Linked DNA regions of Homo sapiens: region 1 is linked to region 2. The links are contacts of gene promoters, found by promoter capture Hi-C in blood cells and fetal thymus (Javierre and others, 2016). All regions are on one chromosome and are shown on one strand. Each heading gives the region's core, a stretch centred on a gene start or on the middle of the fragment in contact. The rest is flanking DNA. Distances are from core to core; before and after follow the strand shown.

The links. The method cuts DNA at HindIII sites, captures the fragments that hold promoters and counts their contacts. A CHiCAGO score of 5 or more calls a contact.
Region 1: a fragment that was not itself captured here is called in contact with the fragment with the promoter of RFNG in region 2 in 1 of 17 cell types (total CD8 T cells); the score reaches 5.0 in total CD8 T cells.

The regions. Positions count from the first base shown.
Region 1 is chr17:82,180,004-82,185,904 of GRCh38, reverse strand. CCDC57 (coiled-coil domain containing 57) reads left to right here. Exons shown (of 19, transcript NM_001394669.1): 8 at 1,973-2,131. Among named protein-coding and RNA genes, the nearest start is that of CCDC57, 30 kb to the left of the region's middle. RefSeq lists enhancers at 4,290-5,256, 5,257-5,901. The HindIII fragment of the contact is 7,884 bases long and covers 1-5,901 here.
Region 2 is chr17:82,050,116-82,054,331 of GRCh38, reverse strand. RFNG (RFNG O-fucosylpeptide 3-beta-N-acetylglucosaminyltransferase) reads left to right here and starts at 2,521. Exons shown (of 8, transcript NM_002917.2): 1 at 2,521-2,832; 2 at 2,990-3,038; 3 at 3,568-3,670; 4 at 3,777-3,930. The coding sequence starts at 2,566. GPS1 (G protein pathway suppressor 1) reads right to left here and starts at 2,434. Exons shown (of 13, transcript NM_001321092.3): 1 at 2,368-2,434; 2 at 966-1,058; 3 at 283-464. The coding sequence starts at 2,400. RefSeq lists silencers at 2,127-2,256, 2,317-2,566, 2,837-2,986 and an enhancer at 2,207-2,876. The HindIII fragment of the contact is 9,575 bases long and covers 1-4,205 here.

The DNA.
Region 1 (5,901 bases), core at 2,394-4,893, 130 kb before region 2:
ATAAGTGACAGCCATATTTATTTCAGTTCCTTTTTTTCTTTCTTAAAATGAAGTAGAGATGGGGTCTCCCCATGTTGCCCAGGATGGTCTCAAACTCCTGGACTTAAGTGATCCTCCCATCTCAGCCTCCCAAAGTGCTGGGATTATAGGCATGAGCCACCGTGCCTGGCCAGCTTTGTAGTTCTTAATAGGTTTTTCAGCAGTTTTGTGCTGGTTTGGAGTTTGGAACTACAGAGAAAACCTGTAGGATTAACAGGAAAGCATTTTTTTCTTCCTTTTTTTTTTTGTGACAAGGTCTCACTCTGTCACCCAGGCTGGAGTGCAGTGGCGTGATCTCGGTTCACTGCAGCCTACACCTCCTGGGCTCAGGTGATCCACCCCCCTCAGCCTCCCAGGTAGCTGGGACTACAGGTGCGTGCCACCACACCCGGCTAATTTTTGTATTTTGAGTAGAGACAGGGTTTAGTCATGTTGCCCAGGCTGGTTTCGAGCTCTGGGACCTCAAGCAGTCTGCCTGCCTCGGCCTCCCAAAGTGCTGGCATTACAGGCATGAGCCACCATGCCCAGCCTTCTTTTTTATTTTAACCATCCCATTACGCAGAAGAAAGAGAAGACTGGAAAGCAGCAGTGCGATCATGGCTCACTGGAGCCTCGACCTCCTGGGCTCAGGTGATCCTTCCACCTTGGCTTCTCACAAAAAGCATTTACGCTCTTGTGGTGAGCAGTGCACTCCCGCTCGTGGCCGTGGTGTCCTCTGTCCCTGCAGTGAGGGCTCAGCAGCCGTGCCCATTGATCTACACCTGAGACTGTGCATCAGGGGAGACTGTCCAGGAGGCCCCAGGCAGAGTCACATCACCATCCTGATGCTGGGAGTGGGGCTGGCCCTCATAATTAGGTGGCTCATGGTCCAGGGATAAAGCTGCTTCCCAGAGCACCAGAGGCCGTTGGTGAGTCTGTTTCTTCAGTACCCACGCAAAGCGTGGAAGGAGTCCAAACACACATTCTGTGTCAGCCCACATTGCCAGAGATGGCTGGAAACGTTGATGCCTTTGATGGTGTCTCTTTTCAGCTGTCCTAAAATATGTGTCCAAAACTGTTGGCAGGGTGGCTTTTTTTCCATTCTATATAATACCAGGCTTGAGTGCACCACTCATGCTAGGTTTAACCCCTCGTGACAAGGGGTGGCCTCTGTGGGGGCAGCCAGCTCACCCTCTGCTTCTCACTGTCAGTTGGAAGTTCATCAGCACAGGAGCATCTGAAGGTCTGTCGTGTGTGATGCTACAGTTGCTCTTGTGGGCCGTCTTCCCATCTCTTAGGGAAACAGGGCTACGCCCATGCAAGTGGGCAGGTATCATCTTGCCTAGGTTAGTACTGTGGCTACCTGAGTTAACAGCTCTAGATATTGTCCCGAACATTTTCTTGGGAAATTTATTCCATTTTGGGTAATTCTCCCAGAGGCATCCTGCTGTTAAGGTTATTTAGTGGGTTCTGTAGAACCTTATTTTACCATGCAACTTGAAAATGTGCTGAATGTCTCTGCACGTGGGGTGCTGTGCTAGGCATGGCGAGGACATGAGGGTGACTTGGTCAGAGGTGTTGCTACCTCATGACTGTGGGCTCTGTGGGCATGGGAGGCATGTCATGCCTCACCTTCCGCCCACCAAGAACCTGGCACATGGCCTGGTGTGCTGCAGGAGCTTAGCTGGAATCTGGGTTGGTGGGATGCATGCATGCATGGAGGTAGTTGGGTGGACGGATGCTTAATTCTTCCTGTGCGGAACCATCTTCATCATCTAGGCCAGGAAGTTTCAGCTCGAGAGCTGTGTGTGTGTGTGTGTGTGTGTGTGTGTGTGTGTGTGTGTGTGTGTGTGTGCGCGCGCGCGCGCGCATGTGTATTTGCTGGGGGGTGCTGTGTAAGAGACAACTTTAGTGAGTGAGAACCACATCTACATAGTTTCCCTTCTATGTTTAGACTTCGTGAAGATGCATCAACTGTAAAATCTGCCTGGGATGCTCAAATTGCTCAACTATCTAAGGAGATGGTCTCCAGAGACCTTCAGATTCAGACGCTGCAGGAAGAAGAGGTGAAGCTCAAGGCACAGGTGGCCCGATCCCAGCAGGACATTGAAAGGTAACTGTCCCCAGGCAGATGTTTCCATTGAGGGTCTCCTATGGGCAGGTGCTGTTGTAGGTACTAAGGATTCAAAACTGAACAGATTGAGTCCCTGGCCTCACATTTTCTTGGGGGAGAAAGACAGTGAACAAGACAGATAGAATGTCTGGTCACGCAGGGGTGGTGTGGGAAGACATGCAGAAGGGGCCGCCTGCTGGAGGGAGCATGGCCAGAGGATGGTGTTTCTCAGTCTGTAATAAGAGCCATAAAGGTGCTCCTGCTTGATTCTGCACTAAGAATCTCCTCTTGCCAAGCGTGGTGGCTCACACCTATAATCCCAGCACTTAGGGAGGCAGAAGCAGGAGGATTGCTGGAACCCAGGAGTTGGAGACCAGCCTGGTTAACATAGTGAGACCCCATCTCTGCAAAAAGGAAAACAAAAACAAAGAATCTCCTCGTCTGTCTTGTCTGATTGTTCATGTCCTCATGTGTTTCTTATCCGTTGGGGCGAACACTTCCTTGAACAAAGATAGCATTCTATTTCCCATACACATTCAAGTCAACTTTATTACAGAATACATATGCTAAACTCATCCATTTTAACTCTACACTTGATGAATTTTGATGAATGTGTATGCTGTATGATATCATTTGGCTCTATGTCCCCCCCCAAATCTAATCTCAAATTGTAATCCCCATGTGTCAAGGGAGGACCCTGATGGGAGGTGATTGGCTCATGGGGGCGGTTTCCCCGATGCTGTGCTTATGATAGTAAGTGAGTTCTGATGGTTTAAAAGTGTTTGGTGGGCCGGGTGTGATGGCTCACGCCTGTCATCCCAGCACTTTGGGAGGCCAAGGCTGTCAGATCACTTGAGGTCAGGAGTTCGAGACCAGCCTGGCCAACATGGTAAAACCCCGTCTCTACTAAAAATACAAAAATTAGCCAGGCATGGTGGCTCACGCCTGTAGTCCCAGATACTCCAGAGGCTGAGGTGGGAGAATCACTTGAACCCAGGAGGCGGAGGTTTTGGTGAGCCCAGATCGTGCCACTGCATTCCAGCCTGGGCAGCAGAGTGAGATTCTGTCTCAAAAAAATGAATAAACAAATAAAAAATAAAATATAAATAAATGTTTGGTGGGCCGGGCGCGGTGGCTCACATCTATAATCCCAGCACTTTGGGAGGCCAAGGCTGGCAGATCACCTGAGGTCAGGAGTTTGAGACCAGCCTGGACAACATGGTAAAACCCCATCTCTACTAAAAATACAAAAATTATCCCGGTGTGGTGTCACACGCCTGTAATCCCAGCTACTCGGGGGGCTGAGGCAGGAGAATCACTTGAACCCAGGAGGCGGAGGCTGCAGTGAGCCGAGATGGTGCTACTGCACTTCAGCCTGGGCAACAGAGCGAGACTGGGTCTCAAAAAAAAAAAAAGGAAAAGTACCAATGCTGAAAGAAACATGTTGTAATAACGTTCTTAGCTCTTCCTTCCAGCATTCTTTTTTTTTTTTGTTAAATACTTCCATTGACTGAAATAAAACATCATGTATCTTCAAGAAAGCACATTTAGATTTACCTATTACTTGTGTATGTAGAAAACCCTCATAATATGAACTAATGCAGAAGAAAAAAAACATGCTGTGATAATGTTCTCAACTTTTTTTCTTTTTTTTTTGAGATGGAGTCTCACTCTGTCACCCAGGCTGGAGTGCAGTGGCGCAATCTCAGCTCACTACAACCTCCACCTCCTGGGTACAAGCAGTTCTCCTGTGTCAGCCTCTAGAGTAGCTGGGATTACAGGCATGCGCCACCACGCCTGGCTAATTTTTGTATTTTTAGTAGAGACAGGGTTTCACCATGTTGGCCAGGCTGGTCTTGAACTCCTGACTTCAGGTGATCCACCTGCCTTGGCCTCCCAAAGTGCTGGGATGACAGGCGTGAGCCACCCCGCCTGGCTTATGTTCTCAACTCTTGATTCCAATGTTCCTTCTTCGTTAAACTCTTCCATTCACTGAAAGAAAACAGCACATATTACAATATTTAGACTTTTTTATACATTTAATTTCTCTCCTCATTATGTGCACGGTTGCCTTTAAATCTCTGAACTTATTTGTAATAGCTGCTTAAATGTATTTATCTGCTAATTCCATCATATCTTTATTTCTGAGTCTGTTTCTATGGGCTGATTTTTCTACTGGAGAGAGCTACATTTTTTTCTACTTCCTTGCCCATCTGGTAAGTTTTCACTGGATGTCAGACATGGTGAATATGATGTTGGCGAGCATCTGGTTTTGGCTGTGCTGTTTTTTGTTTGGCTGCAGTTAAGTATTTACATGGCAGCTTGACCCATTTGAGACTTGTTTAAAATCAGTGCGAGGGCAGGTGGGGCAGGTCTAGAGAAGCCTTTTCACCAGGGCTGACTCAGCACTATGACTCCCAGACCCCACTGCGTGCCCTGGAGCGAGAGCTCCAAGGATGCTCCGCCGGCCGCCCTGACGAGCTCTGGGAATCAGCGCACGTGGAGCCCCGTGCTGGCTGCTTCGTTCCCACGAGTTGCTCTTGGCCCAGCCGGTGTTGGCTTCTCCTGTGTATTTGCATGTGGCTGTCAGCCACAGCTTCTAGGGGATCCCTGCACAGATCCCAGGTTCCCCTCCTCTCTGCCCCTCTGCCTCATAAAGCCCATTTCAGCCACTTCAGCTTCTCCAAACTCCAACCTTCATCTCCTCGTCACAGCAAGACCACCGTGCTCTGCGTGGTTTGCCGTCCCTGCGGGGATCCGGAATGGCCTGTGGAGAGAAGCCGGGCGGCGAGTGGGCCCATCTCGCGAGGACCTTCTCTGAGGGGCCTCAGCCCCGCACCGCTCGTGTGTTCATCGTTCGCTCTGTGAAAGCCGTGCCCCATTTACTGCCCAGTGTCCCAGTTGTTTAAAGTGGGAAGATAGGCATGGTGACAGCTGCTGTGTTGTGTTAAAGATTTATTTATTTTTGCAGTTACAGGGATTTAAAAATGTATCTGTGGGGCTGGGCCCAGTGGCTCACGCCTGTAATCCCAGCACTTTGGGAGGCCGAGGCGGGCGGATCACGAGGTCAGGAGATCGAGACGATCCTGGCTAACACGGTGAAACCCCGTCTCTACTAAAAATACAAAAAATTAGCTAGGCGTGGTGGTATGCACCTGTAGTCCCAGCTACTCAAGAGGCTGAGGCAGGAGGACCACTTGAGCCCAGGAGGTGGAGGCTGTACTAAGCCAACATCACGCCACTGCACTCCAGCCTGGGTGACAGAGCAAGACTCTGTATCCAAAAAAAACCTAAAAATAATTAAACAAAACAAGAACACATTGTGTATAAATTACCACAAACTTAGCAGCTTAGCTGCTTTAAACACCCATTTATTATCTCAGGTTCTGGGGCCAGGGCCTGGGCAGGGCTCAGCCATTCCCGGCTCAGGGTCTCTCCAGGCTGGAATCAATGATGGCCAGGCCTGCCTCTCCTTGGAGGCCCAGGGTCCCTTCCAGACTCACCCAGCTGTTGGCAGAATTCAGTCCCTCCAGCTGTGGGGCCAAGGCCTCCATTCCCTCACTGTCTGACAGCCAGGGTCACTCTGCACCCTAGCGGCGTCCTCAGTCCTGGCCACGCAGCCCCTCCAGGGACCCTCTCACAACACGGTGGCTCAATTGCTATCATTCGAACTCCCTGAAGTTTACCGGTGCAATGAGGCCAGCAGGAGAGTCTCCCTCCAGTCTCACGCAGAGCCATGCCACCATCTCTGTGTCGCTGCCTGGGACAGG
Region 2 (4,216 bases), core at 1,272-3,771:
TGCCCCAGGAGCCTACAGCCGGGTGGGGAAACCAGCAGGGAGGCGGCCCCTGAGCCACAGTCTCCAACAGCTCCCCTTGGAATCAAAGCCCTGCATGCACACACACAGAAGCCACACACACACAGGGCACTTCCACTGCTGGCCAAAAGAGAGCGAGAGCTCTACCCGCCCGACTTCCCAGCACAGGGGTGGGAGATGCAGGGCACAGGAAGGGGGCCCAGTCCCAGACACCCGCGCTCCCTTGGTGGCCTCTGCTTCCTCTCGCCAAGCCCCTGGCCTCACCTGGTGGCCTCTGAGAGCTTGCGGTGGATCTCCTCGTACATGTCCACGTTAAAGGTTCTCTGCACGAAGGAGAGGGCCATCTTCAGGGCCTCCACCCGCAGCGTGGGGCAGTGATCAGCAATGAACTGCAGCCGTTCGATGCGCATCAGGCCGCTGTAGCTGGCCGCGTACTGTTCCAGATCCTGGGAGCAGGCACAGACAAGAGTCAGGCAGGATGGGAGGCAGGACCCTGGCCCCAGGCCCTGAGGGTCAGGAGTTGGGGCCTGACTGTCCTAGCCAGAATGTCGCCCTGGGCCCATAACCAGAACCGGGCATGGGGGTACGAGACTGACTGCTGTCCCAGGAGCTACGAAGACCGCTGGGGTGGGCCTGGCGCAGGAGCCTCAGGAGTGGGACCCTGCACCCGGGGGCTTTCGGGGATAGACACCCACTAGTGACTGCTGGTCGCTAGGCTGAGCGGGGAGGAGACCTGCCCTGGCTTCTCCATGAGCAGCATCTGAAGCTGAGCTACAAGCCTCATGTGAGTGCGCAATCAGAAACGCTGATGGTTTCGGGGTCAGAAAAAGACGACAGCGATCACTGAGGAGGATCATTCTACCTGCTGTGCAGGCTGCAGCGGGGAGTGTGCCCTGGACCCCTCAGCAGGACTGAGACACCCAAGGTCCCCCCACTGGGCTCCGTACCAGGCTGGGGTTCTCCACCACGTAGTTGACGTCAGGTGCATTCTGCGGGTCTTCCTGGGGGTCCACGTCGATCTGCATGGGCTCCACGGCCCCCTGCAACATGGGCCAGGCACCTGGCACCTCGTCCTGGGGACTGCCCCAGGAGGGCGAGAGACCCGCACTGTTCTCTGAGGTCAGCTCTGCCCAAGATCTTCCAGGCCAGTCGGACCACACTCCCGCCGCTGCTGTCCCCCAGGTGTGCCCTCCCAGTCACCCCCGCCCCCACCCAGGCTCCTGTGCCACCACATCAGGGAGGGGTCTCCTCACAAGACTCTAAGGCTCAGAAGCAGAAACCCCTCGCCTGATTCTAGCCGCTCATCTCTGAAAGCCAGAAAGCAGACAGGGGACAACCAACTACACAGGGGCCTCTGAGGGCCCCTACACGTTCCCAGCCACCATCCTGATGTAGTTTCCTCCAAGCCACGGAGAAGAACGGGACGCCACCTCAACCCCAGGAGGCAGGAGGACCAGCCCCCGGAATCTGTCCTGAGCAGCGGAGCAGCAATACTGGGCTGAGAGTCACGCCACGGAGTTGGGAGAAGGGGAAAAGAGTCATCTCAGGGAGCCTCATGGCCCCCAGCTGGGAGACACAGAGAAGCCAGGACCTCGGCTTAACACAAAGCAGGCTGGAAAAGCCGCCATGCCGGGCACTCGCCGGACCCGTGGGCCTCCCGCGCTCCTTCGGGAAAAGCACCAAGAGCTCGGCTCCCTCCGCAGGCCCCGGGCCCACCGGGGCTCCCTCCCCTCCTGCGCTTGGCACTGAGTCCCTGTCCTCGGCCAGCAGAGCAGCAGGGGCCCAGCCACAGCAGGGGCGGCCGGGGCCCTGCTCCCCCCTCCCTCGCTCGGGGGTCCCTGTCCTGGAAGGTACCTCGTAGAGCAGCGTACAGGCCGACAGGCTGGCGCTCAGGCTGAAGTCCCCGGCCGTGCCGGGCAGGACGAGGTCTGACCTACTGCTGTGAGGGGTGCAGTACAGATCTGTCACTGACGAGGAGGCCGAGCTGGGGGCCGAGCTATCCCTCATTCTGTCCTGACTTTCTGCACCCCCCGACCCTGACACAGAGCTGGCTGGCTGCTGAAGGGAGAAAGAGCGTTAGCGTCGGGGCGGCCGGGAACCTCTCCCGTGAGCTGCTGGGAGGGGAGGCGGGGCGGGCGCGGCCCGGCGGCCCCCGATCGCAGCGCGCAGCCACGGCGGAGACGCGCCCTCGGCCCTGCAGCCCCCGACGCGCGCTGCCCGCGGAGGCCCGGCACGGAGCGTGCCCGACCGACTCCTGGCGCAGGCCCCGCGCCCCTGCTCGACCTCAGCCCGGCCCCAGTGGCGGGGGGCGCGGGGGCGCGGAGGCCCGGGGCGGCCTCGGCTCGTTACCTGCAAGTTAAACACCTGAACCGGCAGCGGCATCTTGCACCCACCCCGCCGCGGCGTGCCGTCCACTTCCGGGGCAGCGAAGCCGTCGCTTCCGGGGCGCGGGGCGGGGCGGGGCCGCTGCGTTCTTAAAGGGGCCGCCGCCCACCCACGGCTCCGGCCAGGTTCTCCGCTCGCAGCGCCGGGGGTCCCGGCGGCCGCATGAGCCGCGCGCGTGGGGCGCTGTGCCGGGCCTGCCTCGCGCTGGCCGCGGCCCTGGCCGCGCTGCTGTTACTGCCGCTGCCGCTGCCCCGCGCGCCCGCCCCGGCCCGGACCCCCGCCCCGGCCCCGCGCGCGCCCCCGTCCCGGCCCGCTGCCCCCAGCCTGCGGCCTGACGACGTCTTCATCGCCGTCAAGACCACCCGGAAGAACCACGGGCCGCGCCTGCGGCTGCTGCTGCGCACCTGGATCTCCCGGGCCCGCCAGCAGGTGCGCCGGACCCCGACCCCGACGGCGAGCCCCACGCCCACCCGCCCCGCCTCCCAGGGTCTAGGCCCGGCCCAGGCCCCCGGAGGCTCCGCGCGGGGCGGGTCGGTCTCCGGCCTGGGCAGCGCCCCAGAAGCCTCATAGATTGTTTCTCCCCCAGACGTTTATCTTCACCGACGGGGACGACCCTGAGCTCGAGCTCCAGGGCGGTGAGTGTCCCCCACTCCCCGGCGCCCGCGGGATCTGCCCCCCGAGCCTTTCTCGCTCCGAAGCCACGGCCCCTTCGCTGCTGTGGGTGCCTTTCTCTGCCCAGGCTCCCGAGGCCCGGGGAGGCCCCGACGCTGCCCAGGTCACGCGGCCTGCGGAGGGCCCACCCTGCCAGCCAAGCTCTGCTCCCCACCAGCCTCTCACACTAGCCGCTTCCCGGGGCGTGGGGCTAGTGCCACGTCCCCTGAAGAAGCGCCAGCAGGGAATCCGCCCTTCCAGGCCAGGTCAGGGCGAGCTGCCTCCGTCCTGTTTCCACTCAAGAGATCCCAACCGATGGCCGCCTGCTTCAGCCTCGGTGGCACCAGCAGGGTCAGCGCGTGAGGGCTAGGGCTGTGGTTGGACCCAGGCAAGGTGTCCAGGCATGTCAGACAGCCACGTTGTGCCCTGGCCCTTGGGGGCAGGTGGGGCACAGGCCTTACCCCAACCCCAGTGCCATCCTCTACGTGCGTGCTTCCCGTCTCTGATTCGCAGGCGACCGTGTCATCAACACCAACTGCTCGGCGGTGCGCACTCGTCAGGCCCTCTGCTGCAAGATGTCCGTGGAGTATGACAAGTTCATTGAGTCCGGGCGCAAGTACGCGGCGCTGACCCGACCCGCAGAGAGCTCAGAGCCAAGCTGGGTGGGGGCCTCCTGTCCAGCCATGCCAGGCCCTCGTGCCCAGGACTCCCCTCGCCCACAGGTGGTTTTGCCACGTGGATGATGACAATTATGTGAACGCCAGGAGCCTCCTGCACCTGCTCTCCAGCTTCTCACCCAGCCAGGACGTCTACCTGGGGCGGCCCAGCCTGGACCACCCCATTGAGGCCACCGAGAGGGTCCAGGGTGGCAGAACTGTGAGTGTCGGAGCAGACGCCATCGGAGCAGACGCCTTCCTTGACACCAGCCCGGGAGGCACAGCAGAGGGCGTGGAAAGCTGGCTTGAGAAGGGCATAGGGTTGGGGGCCCAAGCTGATCCACCCAGGTGGTTTGCATGTGGTGTTTCAGGAGCAGGCCAGGAGGCCCTCACCGTACTGGGCAGAGAGGGGGTGTCTGGGCCAGGTGGGGAGGGTCTGGAGGCTACGGGTCAATGGCCTGCAGAAGCCCCCGGCTCTTTTTGCTCCAAGAAGCTTCTGTTACCTG